Regions from separate parts of the Homo sapiens genome. Here region 2 is linked to region 1. Evidence: promoter capture Hi-C in 16 types of primary human blood cells and fetal thymus (Javierre and others, 2016). All regions are on one chromosome and are shown on one strand. Each heading gives the region's core, a stretch centred on a gene start or on the middle of the fragment in contact. The rest is flanking DNA. Distances are from core to core; before and after follow the strand shown.

Region 1 (6,775 bases), core at 2,233-4,732:
TCTCCTATATTTGTTGATGGACATTAAGATTGTTACAAACAATACCTTGATAAACATGCTTATACAAGTTTCTAGTCCTCATACACACGTTCAAATTTTTCTAAGGTGTTTACCTAGAAGTGTAATGTCTGGGTGGCATACTAAGTGCATGTTTAATATTAATGCAAATTGACAAATTACTTTCTGAAATGATGGTACTAATTTACCCTCTCACTAGCAATGCATTTGCTTGCTTGCTTCTCTCTACCTTTTCCATTGCTGGATATTGTCAGACTTTTAGATCTTTGGTAACTTTGTAGATAAGCAACAGTATCTTCTCATTTCAGTTTATATTTCTCTGATTTACTGGTGTAATGTTGCATCTTTTTATATTTACTGGCTGTCCAGGTTTCTTTTTTGTGAATTACCTGCCCATGTGCTTTGGCCATGTGCAATTTTTTTTTCCTATTGGGTTATTTGTGGGGATTTTTTTCTTACTAACTTATAAGAAAAATTCATTCTGAATATGATCCATTTAACTGGTATTTGACTCTTGTAAATATGTTTTTACTTAATCATTATCAAGTTTATAGGTTAATACTTTTTTTCTTTAGAAAGGGCATACAAGGTCAGTTCCAACTGTGTAAAGGGCTTTATTCTTTTTTAATCCTATGCAAGACAGCATACGTAGTCTCTGCAATTGGATGAACAGCTGTAAATAGCTTTTGCAGATCTAAGTAAAAACTCTTCTCTAAAGGTCTTCAAAGTTATTCTCCAAACCTGGGGAGTAGCCCTCTTTTAGCTTCTTGGGGTTACAGAGAGGCTAGCACATTCCAAACACAGGTGGGCAAAAAAAGAGGAAATGGACTTTACTTTTACGAACCAGTGGCTGAGCAGAATCTACTCTTCTCACAACCTCAAAGTAGTTTGAAAGTACTTTCATTAAATAAAATTAATCATTTAGTGATCGTGGTTTAGGCATCATGGTTTAGGCATGACTACATCGAGTCATTCTACTTCTTCTCCCCTTACTAAAAGCAGGTTTTAGTTATGTAACCATGTTTAGAGCGGTCTAGGGAGTTTTTATCCTTATGCCTTCCTCCTGATTGGACAATGGTTTGCAAGAACTTGTTAGGAGCTGTGGAAACACAAATATTGGGCAAAAAACTTGTGTTTCTATATAAATATTTACAAACATACTAGACTATAAATTCTTTGAGGTGAGGGCCTGTGTTTATCCTATCCACGATGGTTATACCCTCAGCATTTGGTTCAGCTGACAATCTTAGTGGGAATGTGCTCAACATTCTCAATCCACAACTATTTATTGAATCTGAGTGCTGTGTTAGACAATCTATATTCTATGTGCTTCATGTAATCAAAGTGACCTAGACAAAATCCCTGCCCTTATGAACCTTACATTCTAGTGGCAGGAAATACTATAATGCCAGGGAGAAGGGAGAGAGAAATGAGAATGAAGAAAAATGATGCAGTGATGCATAGCCCTCTCTATCTCTTTGGGATACAGAGAGGGGGCGTGTGTTGTGGGGAGGAGGTGGGGGCTCTATTATAAAAAATATGGCCTGAGAAACTGCATGAGGAAGAGTCATCATGATTTGATACATGGAGATAGAGAAAACCACAGTGTCAGGGCTCCAAAAAAAAAAAATCACTTCCATTTTGGGAGGTAATTTCAGCTTCTTTGTATTTGATTTGGGGCAGTATATAAGTCTTGGGAAAAAAAGAAGTGACTAAAGCTTTTATTTTAGATGAGGAGGACTTAATGAATTTGTAAAATATGCTCCCTTTTGTGGGGAGAAGTACAGCAGTTTGCACGTTGGGAGAACAGCTGGCTCCAATACAGCTTGGTGGTGGGCTTCGACTGAACTGGTCATCGCCTAAGTATTTTGTGTATTTCTGATTACCTATCTCTCCAGGAGCCCACGTGAGCAAGACAGGTCTTCAAGCTGGTTCAATGCTCCCATTCTGTAGGCAACTACAAACTGTGGCTCACTGCATGACTTAACAACAACTGATTGAGAATTGTAAAGTGCAGCCTCGAGTTCATGTGTAGAAACTGCCATCTGCACAAACAAAACATTGAGAGGACTAAGATTTTAAGGATACTAATGCAGACGTCCTTCTTGCTTCATTTATTTAAAAATATCTATTTCACGTTCCTAACAGCATCTAGTAGATGTTTCTTGCTTCTTCCCCCTAACGCCGGACTAAAGAGAAAAAAAAAATAGGCTGTTTTCTGGTCTGGTTTTGTTTTCCTAGTCAAGTACTTAAATTACGGGTGTTTCGTAAGTATCTTTTGATGGATTTCATTGTTTTGTTTATTTCGCGTTAGACAATACAGACACCTTCATATTTCCTTCTGTAGCAAATCTTTTTCAAAGTCTTCATTTGACGTGGCTGATGGAGCTGGTCTGCAGATCTTGCAGACGTGTTAATTTTTGCACGGACTTTAGCTTCAACACACAAAACTTACGGCCTCTTTGAGGAACCAATTTTTCAGGCTAAGAGAACAAATGAAAGTGTTCGCTCATCTTTCGAAAACTATTTATGTACTTGGTATCCGGAATGTGACATTGGTTTTACACGTCGGTAGGTTTTTGTCCTAAATTTCTGGGAAGTTACTTCCTCATCTAACGTTTTATTTTCCTGACTTATTCGTCTTTGATATGCTACAGAAAACCCCTCTCGCCCAGTGGCTGTTTTCTCTCTGTCTCTTAAGATAATTTAGGAACAGAAGCCTTGACTTTTGACGGTCATTTAGTTTTATTCTCCTCCCGTGACTCCCCTCTGTACACTCACAGGGGAGGCCGCCGGCATCTGGGCTGAAAGAACCCTTGGCGGGCGAGGAGAGCAGGGTGTCATGTTGGCGACAGGCTCCTGCTGGCGGCCAGCGAGCCCGCCAGGTTAACGGGGGCGCCGGGGTCAGCGCCCTCGAAGTTGGGGGCCTCGGGCGGGGCCGCCGGGGAGCCACGACGGCCGCTCGACCAGAGCATCCCGCAGTCCCGTTCCCTCCAGAGGGGAAGAATGGCCGAATCTGGCACGATCCCACGGAGATCTCGCTCTTCCCAGCGCAGTCTCCGCTACTGAGCGCGGGACCAACGCAGGCGATGCCGGGCGGCCGACAGGGAAAGCCCAGACCTGGGGCAGAGAAGGAATGAGGGGCCGCCAGCCGGGGGGATTTCCTCCCGCTCTTCCCTCTCCAACGGGAGCGGAAAATGTGATTTGCTGTGCATTCCAGGCGCGGTTCCCTGGGGTGACCTCTCCCAGCCGGCCCGGGCGGGGGGAGCAGACAAAGAGGCGAGGCGGGCGGAGAGGGGACCCCGCGGGGAAGCAGGAGGGGTGCGGGGGGCGGGGGCAGTACCGGGAAAGGGGGCGGATAGCGGGTCTGGCGGCGGCGGCGGCGCCTGGCCAATGGAGAGGCGCGGCCCCGGGCGCCGCGCTCTGCCGCCGGCATTTAAACGGGAGACGGCGCGATGCCTGGCACTCGGTGCGCCTTCCGCGGACCGGGCGACCCAGTGCACGGCCGCCGCGTCACTCTCGGTCCCGCTGACCCCGCGCCGAGCCCCGGCGGCTCTGGCCGCGGCCGCACTCAGCGCCACGCGTCGAAAGCGCAGGCCCCGAGGACCCGCCGCACTGACAGGTGAGCGCGGACGCACCCGGCAGGGATGTGAGTGGGCGGAGGGAAGAGGGCCGCAAACCAACCCAGGACCCGCTCAGTTCCACGCGCGGCAGCCCTCCGTGCGCGCAGGCTCGGGTGCGTTGTTCGCGGGGGTGAATTGTGAAGAACCATCGCGGGGTCCTTCCTGCTGAGGCCGCGGACACCGTGACCTCGCTGCTCTGGGTCTGCAGGGAAACGTAGGAAAAAAAGTTGTCAGGAGCGGGCAGGATGACCCCCACATCCCGTTTCCACCTCCCGGAGGCCCCCGAACACGCTCCTGGTGCTGGTGGCAGCAGCGCCTGGCAGACGCGCCCGCTTAGCGAGGGCGCGAAGTCCAGGCCGCCAGAGCGCAGGAGCATCCGGACCTGCTAGTCGGCCGCTGACTGCGCGGCGAGTTGCCTTGAGAGGGTCCCATGTGCTTGGGGCGCCGCGCTGGGTCTGGGGGCGTCTTGGGGCGCCCATTGGAGTCCGCGGGTTGGAGCATCCGGAGAATCCATGATGTGTGCATTTGCCGATCCCCGAGGTGAGATGGAGACTGGCAAGGGCAGAGCCGCTGTGTTCAGCCACAGCGGAAAACCGAACGGTGGGTAATCCGACAGCTGCGGTGCGGGGCGCGGCCCTGGCCGCGGGGTCCAGCGAACCCGCAGTGCTCACAAGGCAGACACCACACGCGCTCGCGGACCGGCCACGCACTCGCGGGCGCTCGCTTCTCTACTCCAGCCTCTTCCCCGCCCCGCGCACGCCCGGGCTGAATGGTAGACGTTCTGGCGCCGGGCAGCGGCCACCGGCTGGTTCCCACTTCCGCGCGCACCCCTTAAACTGTGTTCTAGAGGCCCCAGCCTCGCCTTGCAGCGCCTCACTAGCTCCTGAGGACTAGGGACTGGCGGCTGAGGCGGGTTGGCGGCTGCAACGAGCTGGGCGTCTTTCGTTCTCTCTCGCTGCCTGGCTGGCTCCGCTGGCCCCTCCACAGCTTGCGGAGCAAGGCCATAGCAGGGGAGTGGGAGGTATATTGGGGCTGTCACCTCCTTGCTGGCCGGAGTTATTTGTAGACTACAGACTCCGGAAGAACAGACGCGCCACCGCTCTCGCTTGGCATTGCCTTCGGATCGCAGCTCCTCCTTGGGGGTGCCCCAGCTTGGCGTTTATTTGCCTGCGCCAGGCTCTGGCGACGGTCACCGGGCCAGGCGGGGAGGGACGGACGGCAGGTGACCAGCCTCTGCTGTGAAGAAATTCCTGCGCGCCCGGAGCTGTCCCTAATGCATTCCCGGGTCGAATCCGTCTACTGCCTTCCCCTCCTCGACCGACTCCGAATCTCGGCTCTTATAGACAGAAATACAGCCTCAGCGTTAGGGGTTAAAATCCCCCTCTTAAACGGTCCGAGGGCAGAGAGGTGACCACCGATAGGTAATTGGATCTCCTGCTGGAAAGAGCAAATCTGAGCGGTGTGCGCGTCTGTTTATGTTCCCCTTCGAGATGGTGCCAGGACACGAACTGATTAAAACAATCTATTGTGTTAAGTGGGTCACTAGGGTTTTAAGCTGTCCCAGGGACCCCAGAGTAGTGGCTTCCTTCTGGCTGTACACACAAGTTAAATAAATAGCGTAGAAGAGGTTAAGATAACCCCATTCTAGGGTGAGGAGTCCTCTTTCATCCCTAGGGCTTCCCCCTCCCCTTTTCTCTTTTTTTGGAAGGAGGGGGAGCATGAGAGTCTTGAGGGGGGGATGTACTTTTCAAAGCAAGGAGGGAAAGATCTTAAGAAAACTATATATTCTCACTGCCCCCCAAGCCAAGTCTATAACAGTAGGTGATTTGATTACTATCTCTGGATAAATGGCACTGTCAAATTGTTAATATTAACTATTTCAGGGATTTTTAGCAGGGTAGTGGCAGTATGTGTGCGTGTGTGTGTGTGTGTCTGTGTGTGTGTGTTTAACCTCCAGGTCATTGTAGGAATTAGAGTCTTTTGTAAACTTTGTAATTTCACAGGTTTCCTATTTTCTTAAAAGTTCATTTTTAGTGAAATGTTTTGGTAACCCACGCTCTGTAGGAAATCCAGGTTGGCTAATGCGGTCTTTATGTGAGTAGTTACACAGGGAAGGATAAAAACCTTTTATGTCCTACATCTCTGAATGAGGGCTGCCTACCCTGTCTTTGAAACTAAGCCGAAGATGCCTTCAGTCTGAATGGTCAAGTATTAAAAGTGATAAAATGCAAAGAAATTTCATGCCGCAGACACCTCCCCCAAGAACTGCTTGTTGACAGCAAAGCTGTGGAACATGTTCCACAACAGAGAGTAAAGGACAGCCAGGAAATATAAACCTTTTATGTAAAGGAAAGGCAGGTGGGGGACAGTGGTTAGGGGAGGTGACTGCAGCCTCTAACCAAAAGGCAACCATCAGGCAAGTGCTACCAGCCCGTGTCTTCGATCTGCAAGGAATTTTCTTTAGTTTTAACATATGCTCTTAGAAATTCAAAGTACAACAGGAATTCCTGGGACAAGAGAAATCTTTTTATTCACATGTGAACATGAAGATACAAAATAGATAATTATTTTATTTATAGCACTCTTCAAATTGTATTGCATTAGAAAACATATCCATTGACCCACTGTTAAGGACAGCACTGGGTGTCAATAGGACAGTGGTTAAGGACCTGTGTTTGGGGCTAGATAGAATTGGGTTTAAACTGCTGGCTGGGCTAGGCACAGTGGCTCACACCGGTAATCCCAGCACTTTGGGAGGCCAAGGAGGACGGATCACCTGAGGTCGGGAGTTCGACACCAGCCTGACCAACATGGAAAAATCCCGTCTCTACTAAAAACACAAAATTAGCCAGGCATGGTGGTGCATGCCTGCAATCCCAGCTACTTGGGAGGCTGAGGCAGGAGAATTGCTTGAAACCGGGAGGCGGAGGTTGTGGTGAGCCCAGATAGCGCCATTGCATTCCAGCCTGGGCAACACGAGTGAAAACTCCGTCAAAAAAACAAAACAAAACAAACAAACAAAAAAATGCTGGCTTTCCCACTTATGAGCTGTGTGACCTTGGACAAATTTCCAACTTTTCTGAGTGTAGATTCCCTGATTGGTAAAAGGAAGATGATATTATCTACCTCATATT
Region 2 (6,775 bases), core at 2,392-4,891, 120 kb after region 1:
AACTGAGTGCCACTGACCATTAGATAAAGACAGATTTTTAAAAATAATCACCCCTATTGTAAGGGATAGTCACTCCTGACTCATTGTCTTCTCTTCTTCATTAGTTTGATTGTTTTTCCCTCCAGATCACATTTTTGGAGTTGTTCTTTTGGTGAGATAGTGGTTGAAATAGTTTAATTTTCCTTTTTGAGTCCTGTTTTCACCTCTAGATGAATTTGCTTTTATGAAGGAATTCCATTCCATTTATGATCTAAATGAGGAGGAACTCCTTTAAATTCTTTCCTTTTTTGGACAGCTTCAACCTGTATTTCACTGAGTACCACTGCATGGTAAGTAAAGAGGATACTATAAATAAAGTGTGAAATAGACATCTTCCCTCTCGTATCAGCTAAGTAATTTCTCAAATATTTAAAAATTGAAAGAAGTGCCACAGAGGTAACAGAAAGAGGGGCAGTTATATTATTGAGTAGAAACCTAATTTTCCCAGGAGTATATGTAAGAAAAGCCCTCCCTGTCCGAGGAGACGTCATCATGTGAACTCACATATGAAGAAAGGTGGAAATCAATTAGGGGTAGGAGCAGCGAGGGCCCTGGGGAGTGTTCAAGTAGTGCAAATGACATCTAAAGACGGGATGAAATGTAACCTTTCAGATCGGGAGGGCAGGATCCAAGCCACCAAAAAGTCTAGTGGTTTGTATCCTCCAAACACCCCCCACCACTATAATCTCCCGCCACTTACTCAACCACTCTAGTCCAAGGCACCAAACCCCCATGCTGGATTCTTAACCTGTCCTGATTGAGGTCCTCCTTTAAGTCACATAGATCCAGCCCATCTGAGTTCAATTTCCTCCTTTGTAAAATGGAGATAATAATAGTGCTTTCCTCAAGGGTTTTTTTATTCAATGAGAAATGAGATATTACTTAGTATCAAACTTGGCTGAGAGTATTAAATAAATGTTAGCTAATATTATTTTTACTTTTTTTTTTTGAGACAGGGTTTCGCTGTGTCAACCAGGCTGGAGTGCAGTGGTATGATCTCGGCTACTGCAACCTCCACCTCCTGGATTCAAGTGATTCTCCTGCTTCAGCCTCCCGAGTAGCTGGGAATACAGGCACCTGGCTAATACCGTTGCTAATAATATAACGCACATATCATGGAAGCTTGGGAAGTTTTTATAAAACAGGTGGGGCTTGATGGCAGTTTTGAAGGGTATTTGCTGCTTGCCTAGAACACGGGAAGTGGAGCTGGCAGTCCAAGCTCAAGGAGCCCCAGGAGCCAGGGCTTTGCAGAGGCTGCAGGGGAGGAAAGTGTGTGTGGGGTGGGGAGGTTGGTATTGCATAGGTCCAGGGAGGCAATCATGAGACTCCCTAGACCACAGGAAAAATCTTTTGTGGGAATAGTAAGCTTGGACAAGTAGACTAGAGACTATGAAGATAATCTCTCAGAGACTGACACAAATAATCCACTCATGCAAATAATCTCAAAGAATGCAGCCTTTTTTTTTTTTTTTCTAACTTCTGATTCTTAAGGATGAAGAATGTGGGTGGGGATGCCTGTTCCCGGTGTCAGTAAGTAAAATCTTCTGGTGGGGAAGTATTTTGAATATTTGCAAAGAAAGTTCAATGCTCTCCAAAGTGGAGGTAGAAACTGGCACCAGGGATTTCTGTGTACCTGCCTAGAAATACAGGGCTTTAATCTACAGCCAATGTGAACTTTTGTAACTCTTTAAAACATCATCATTTCTGAGGGACTTCAGACTCTGTTCTGTAGGTCAGCACCAGACCAACAATATAGAGTTCCTGTGATCACTTATGATTTGAAACATAAACTCAGGCTTTGAATGTTTTAAAAACACCCGTATAACTATGGGTTGTTTAAAAATAGCTATACCCCAAAGAGTTTATTTCCAACATCTGACATGAATGCATTTTGCAGCGATTTGTTATGCAAATAATGGTAGCAGGGAAGACATATGAAAAAACATTGACCCTTCTCAAAGCCCGATGGATTTAATGCTTTTGTTAATTCTGAATTCCAAGTCTAGGGGTTGTCTGTTTGTGGTGTATAAAATAAAATACTATATGCCTGCCTCAACTTTCCTTCTGATGAAGCTGTAATTTGCAAAGGAGCTATTGTTCCTCTATGGCTTCCCTAATTTTTCTTCACAGACAACTGTGCTTCAGTGTGGAGAGGGGTTTCAGTGTATTGGCTGTTGAGATGATGCTGTGAGTATTTTCAAGGCAGAGGGGGCTGGGTGCGGTGGCTCACACCTGTAATCCCAGCACTTTGGGAGGCCGAGGCGGGCAGATCATGAAGTCAGGAGATCAAGATCATCTTGGCCAACATGGTGAAACCCTGTCTCTACTAAAATACAAAAAATTAGCCAGACATGGTGGTGAGTGCCTGTAATCCCAGCTACTTGGGAGACTGAGGCAGGGGAATCGCTTGAACCCGGGAGGTGGAGGTTGCAGTGAGCTGAGATCGCGCCACTGCACTCCAGCCAGCAGAAGGAAGAGCTTTTTGAGATGGAGACTCAGGTAGTGCTTGGAATTGCTGATAATCCAAGGCCTGATGATACGGGGGTTATTTGCTGAAGCTTCTATTTCAACTCTCCTTTATGACCCCGGGTTACCTAAATATGTTGCCTTCTAATGTTGTTTTGTGAGAGGTAGGAAGTAGGGTAGACATCATCAGTCTTAGATTTGTCAATGGGAGAAAACCAAGGGACAGACTTTTTTGCCGCCATTTTGTCCTTCTAAAGTGTTAGCTCCTTTTTCCCACTTTACAACTCCTCCTTTCTCCCCTCCTCCTCTGCTCTGCTCTTCTCCACCGCCACCACTCCCAGCAGCTGTTTATTAAATGCCCACTGCATGCTAGCTTTCTAATTTCTTCTTGTCTCTAATGGTCATATTTTAGGATGTCATTCCTCTACTGACAGCTACCACTTCTAGAGTAATCCTAACCTGTAATTCTTTTCTTAGAGGATAAGTAGAAAATACGTAATGGGAGGTGGGGGGAAATGGTTTTGATCTTCAATTAGTGTAACTGATAGGGAGGAAAGGGCTTGGGTTAAGGGAATGTCTTATGAAGCAGCAGCTGTTTTATAAGGGACTCATCTGGAGAAGTGGGGTGTATCCTCTACTGATAAGGGAGAAGACCCACAGAAAGCCAACTAGCATCAAAACAGCCCCAGCATCCAAGCACAGAGGAAGTGAGCCTTCTGACCCCCATGATCTAATAAGCCCCAATATTAGTCCATACAGGAGATGAGCAACATCCCAGGGTGAGTGAGTCAGTCACTCAAGTCCCCGGCCCAAAAGTGTAATGGACTTTGTTTTATGGTTTAATGGACATTTAGCTGAGTTAAAAGGGTTAACAAGTCTGAACACTTCTCTGAAACCTGATGAGATATCCAAGCATCTTTTTTCTGAAGGTCTCCATTGAAAATACCACTTATGAGTAACTTCTGTAAAGAAAACCCATCTGAAAATACCAGAGATGAACCAGCTGCTTTTTTCCCCCTGAACTCTTAGCAAATGATCTAAGGGCTTAAACACATTAAAGGCCACAATTTCAACTTCTGGAATCAATAGGGCAAAGGAATGTGGGCATATTCATTTAAATATGAATTTGCTGACTCCATTCTTACTCTCTTGGGTTCCTCCATAAGCCCAGACCTTACACTAAAAGGCAGCTACTTCTCACACTGCAGCAGGATTTTGAGAACCATCGCCCTTTGTCATCTTCACCCTGACCCTTCTCATCATTTTTTCTGATTCTCAGAACCTCCTGGCATTTATTTCCAATTCAGTTCTGTTTCCTTTCACCAACTCAGGTTAGTTGAGGCTGGACCCTAGCATGCCTGTTTTGTCATACTCTGATGAAAAGCAAATTAAATTCTTGGATGGTAAACTCTTTTCTTAAACTTCTGTCTGGTTCTTTGGAAAAAAATTAAAAATTATATTTCTGTTAATATCAACCAAAATATTGAATCCATCTCAGGATCCTACATCCCTTGACCAACAAGCTGATAAAACTGCCTAGCTCATCTTAGTCAACCTCTTCCTCTCACATGGTGTGTGGAACAGAACTTGGTCTCCCTTGGGCTTCAGTAGTAGCAAATTGAGGAAGTAAGACCTTAATTACATATAACCATGTTTCCACCCTACGTTAGCTCTGTTCCCTTGCCCTTTCACATTTCAAGCTGCCTCAAGGAGGAAAAAATCAGACAGATAAAACACAAACAAAAGACAGAAAACAGGAGCTCAAGGGCTAAATCAAGACTATTAATAGTTCCTCCAAACAAAGAAACCGACTGCCATCATCCAAGCTCTGTTCATCTAATTCTTCCTTTCTCCAAATGTGGCTGAAACTCATCTCCCTTTTAGCCTTCTCTTACTCCCACCGTTATTATTTTCAGCAATTTTTCCCTAAGACAAGGCAGCAGCAGCAAGAAGTGAGAAAATAAAGGTAATCTAGGTAGTACCTTTCTTTGAACAAATAGTTTTCCATCTTTTTCTTATTTCCACTGATCTTGAAAACAGAATCACTGTTTAAAGGGGAGAAGCCCTAGTTCCCTCTGATCACCTTGGTTAATTTTAGAATGGGTGCTTCATATTCACCACACAGAGAAATCTAAGGCTTTTATTCAGGTGAACCCTTCAAAATGATAACATTATGACACCAAAGCTTTTAAAAGTCTTGCTGTTCTGAAACTGCCATTGCAGTTTGGCTTTGTGGCTTTGGATACTCTCAGAGGGAAGGCATCACCTTTGTTAGAGTTTGTGAATTTAAATTAGTTTGGGTTTGTTTGGAAGCAGAGCAACATCAGAAAATCCAGTCCCTTTCTACCTAAAAGCACAAGGCTGCTAGTGAGCAGGCCCATGAGGAAGAGCTGGAGGAGAGGGCAGGACACAGGGATGTCACCCAGCCTAGCTGGGATACGTGTCAGGCCTGACCACGTAATCACAGATACTCATGAACAAGGGAAAGCAGACTATTCAGATACAATGAAAACTGATTTTAAATAAGAGGCATCTCTTATTTTATTATTTTTTCTAAATCGTGGCTCTAAAAAAATAAACTTAGAATTATTTTCCTCTTCCAAAGTGAAATATCTTTTTCTTCCTGGCTTAGACCACCAACCAGGTTTCTGCTGCCGGAAGCCGGGAAAATACTGGATATTCTTTGAGGAAGCCTGATCAGATGCCCTATTATCCCAATTTCCAAACCAAAGATGCTTGGAGATGAAGACACACTTTTTTGGTGTGTGTTCTAAGTTGCAACCTCAAAAACTTGGCAGTTTTCTCACCATGGACTGTGATTTCCATGATGTGATGGTTTGGAAGGGTTTGTTTTCAAATAGATGTTATGGGGTGATTCCAAGGGAATTCTATTTCAATCCTCCTGAGTTGACAACCTTTCCTTCTTAAGTGTAACTTTGGTGTTCAGATAACCTTGGGACACAGACAAGGAAGATTCCCAGTGGTAAATGTCTGTGTGGTACAAAATGGGAAGGCAGAAAGTGAAGCTTGTAAAGTCATGAAAATAAGAAAGAAAGAGCTTTTCATGCATTATCTTTCACACTGTTCTTCTTTTTCTGTTTTTATTTTATTATTATTATTTTTTTGAGACAGGTTCTCACTCTGTTACCCAGGCCGGAGTGCAGTGGCATGATCATGGCTCGCTGCAGCCTCAATCTTCTGGGCTCAAGTGTTCCTCCCACCTCAGCCTCTCTGTACCTGGGACTACAGATGCATGCTATCATGGCCCAGCCAGTTTTTAAAATTTTTTGTAGGATGTGGCCTCCCTATGTTGCCCAGGCTCGTCTTGAACTCCTGGCCTCAGGTGATCCTCCCACTTTAGCCTCCCAAAGTCCTGAGATTACAGGTGTGAGCGACTGCTCACAGCTGGGATTACAAGGCTGCTCACTAGCAGCCTTGTGCTTTTAGGAAGAAAGGGACTAGATTTCTGATGTAGCTCTGCTTCCAAACAAACCCAAACTCATTCAAATTCACAAACTCTAAAAGGTGATGCCTTCCCTCTGAGAATGTCCAAAGTCACAAAGCCAACTGCATGGCGGTTTGGGAATGGCAAAACTTTTAAAAGCTTTTGGTATCATAATTTACTTTTATTTAGGAGGATAGTATAGTTCACATTTTCTCCTTTTTCACAGGTTCTATTTAGTGTCATTTATAGTAGCAATAATTCATATTCTAACTTAGCTTTACCTCAGCAACTCTTTCTCCCCTTACTTTTAGTCTCAGTACTACAAATGCCCGCATGCTTTCTCCCCAGAACCGAGGCCTTCATATTTTTCTCCCTAAGCTGTATATGTCTTACAAACTTGTAAAATGAATGTAAATGAATGTAAAACTTTCCCCTTGTTTGGTGAAGAACAAGAGGATACACCCATTGCTTGAGCATACATCTCCCTCAGTCTCTCTCTTTTTTTTTAGAATGCAAAGTATTTTCTTTTTAAACTTTTAAAATCTGAAAACAAGCTAGCCTATGTTAAATAACATAGTTTCCAAAGCTGAACGTGCTCACTTGGAGCCCAGTTTTCTGCTTCAAATACAAACACAACTTCCTGACACTCCTAGGTGGGAACACTACTGTTTGACGATCTGTGATTAGATGAACTGATCGATCTCAGTGGGTAACATTCCTTTATTTTTTCCTTGGTAAAGGTTTAAAAATTCTAAAATAGATGCATTTTTTTTTTTTCAGTTTTACACTGACAATTTCATTCCAATTGTCTCCTGGGAGACACAG

What was found. Contacts are between HindIII fragments. The CHiCAGO score rates a contact against its expected background, and 5 or more counts as called.
Region 2: a fragment that was not itself captured here is called in contact with the fragment with the promoter of GREM1 in region 1 in 3 of 17 cell types (M1 macrophages, M0 macrophages and M2 macrophages); the score reaches 7.1 in M1 macrophages.

The regions. Positions count from the first base shown.
Region 1 is chr15:32,714,522-32,721,296 of GRCh38, forward strand. GREM1 (gremlin 1, DAN family BMP antagonist) reads left to right here and starts at 3,483. Exons shown (of 2, transcript NM_013372.7): 1 at 3,483-3,640. It overlaps GREM1-AS1 (GREM1 antisense RNA 1), which reads right to left and starts at 4,344. Exons shown (of 2, transcript NR_109767.1): 1 at 4,024-4,344; 2 at 3,580-3,843. RefSeq lists enhancers at 2,989-3,489, 3,627-4,205, 4,206-4,783. The HindIII fragment of the contact is 6,086 bases long and covers 1,735-6,775 here.
Region 2 is chr15:32,830,249-32,837,023 of GRCh38, forward strand. The region is part of intron 17 of FMN1 (formin 1); the gene reads right to left. It also overlaps the pseudogene LOC107984761. Among named protein-coding and RNA genes, the nearest start is that of GREM1-AS1, 110 kb to the left of the region's middle. The HindIII fragment of the contact is 2,093 bases long and covers 2,596-4,688 here.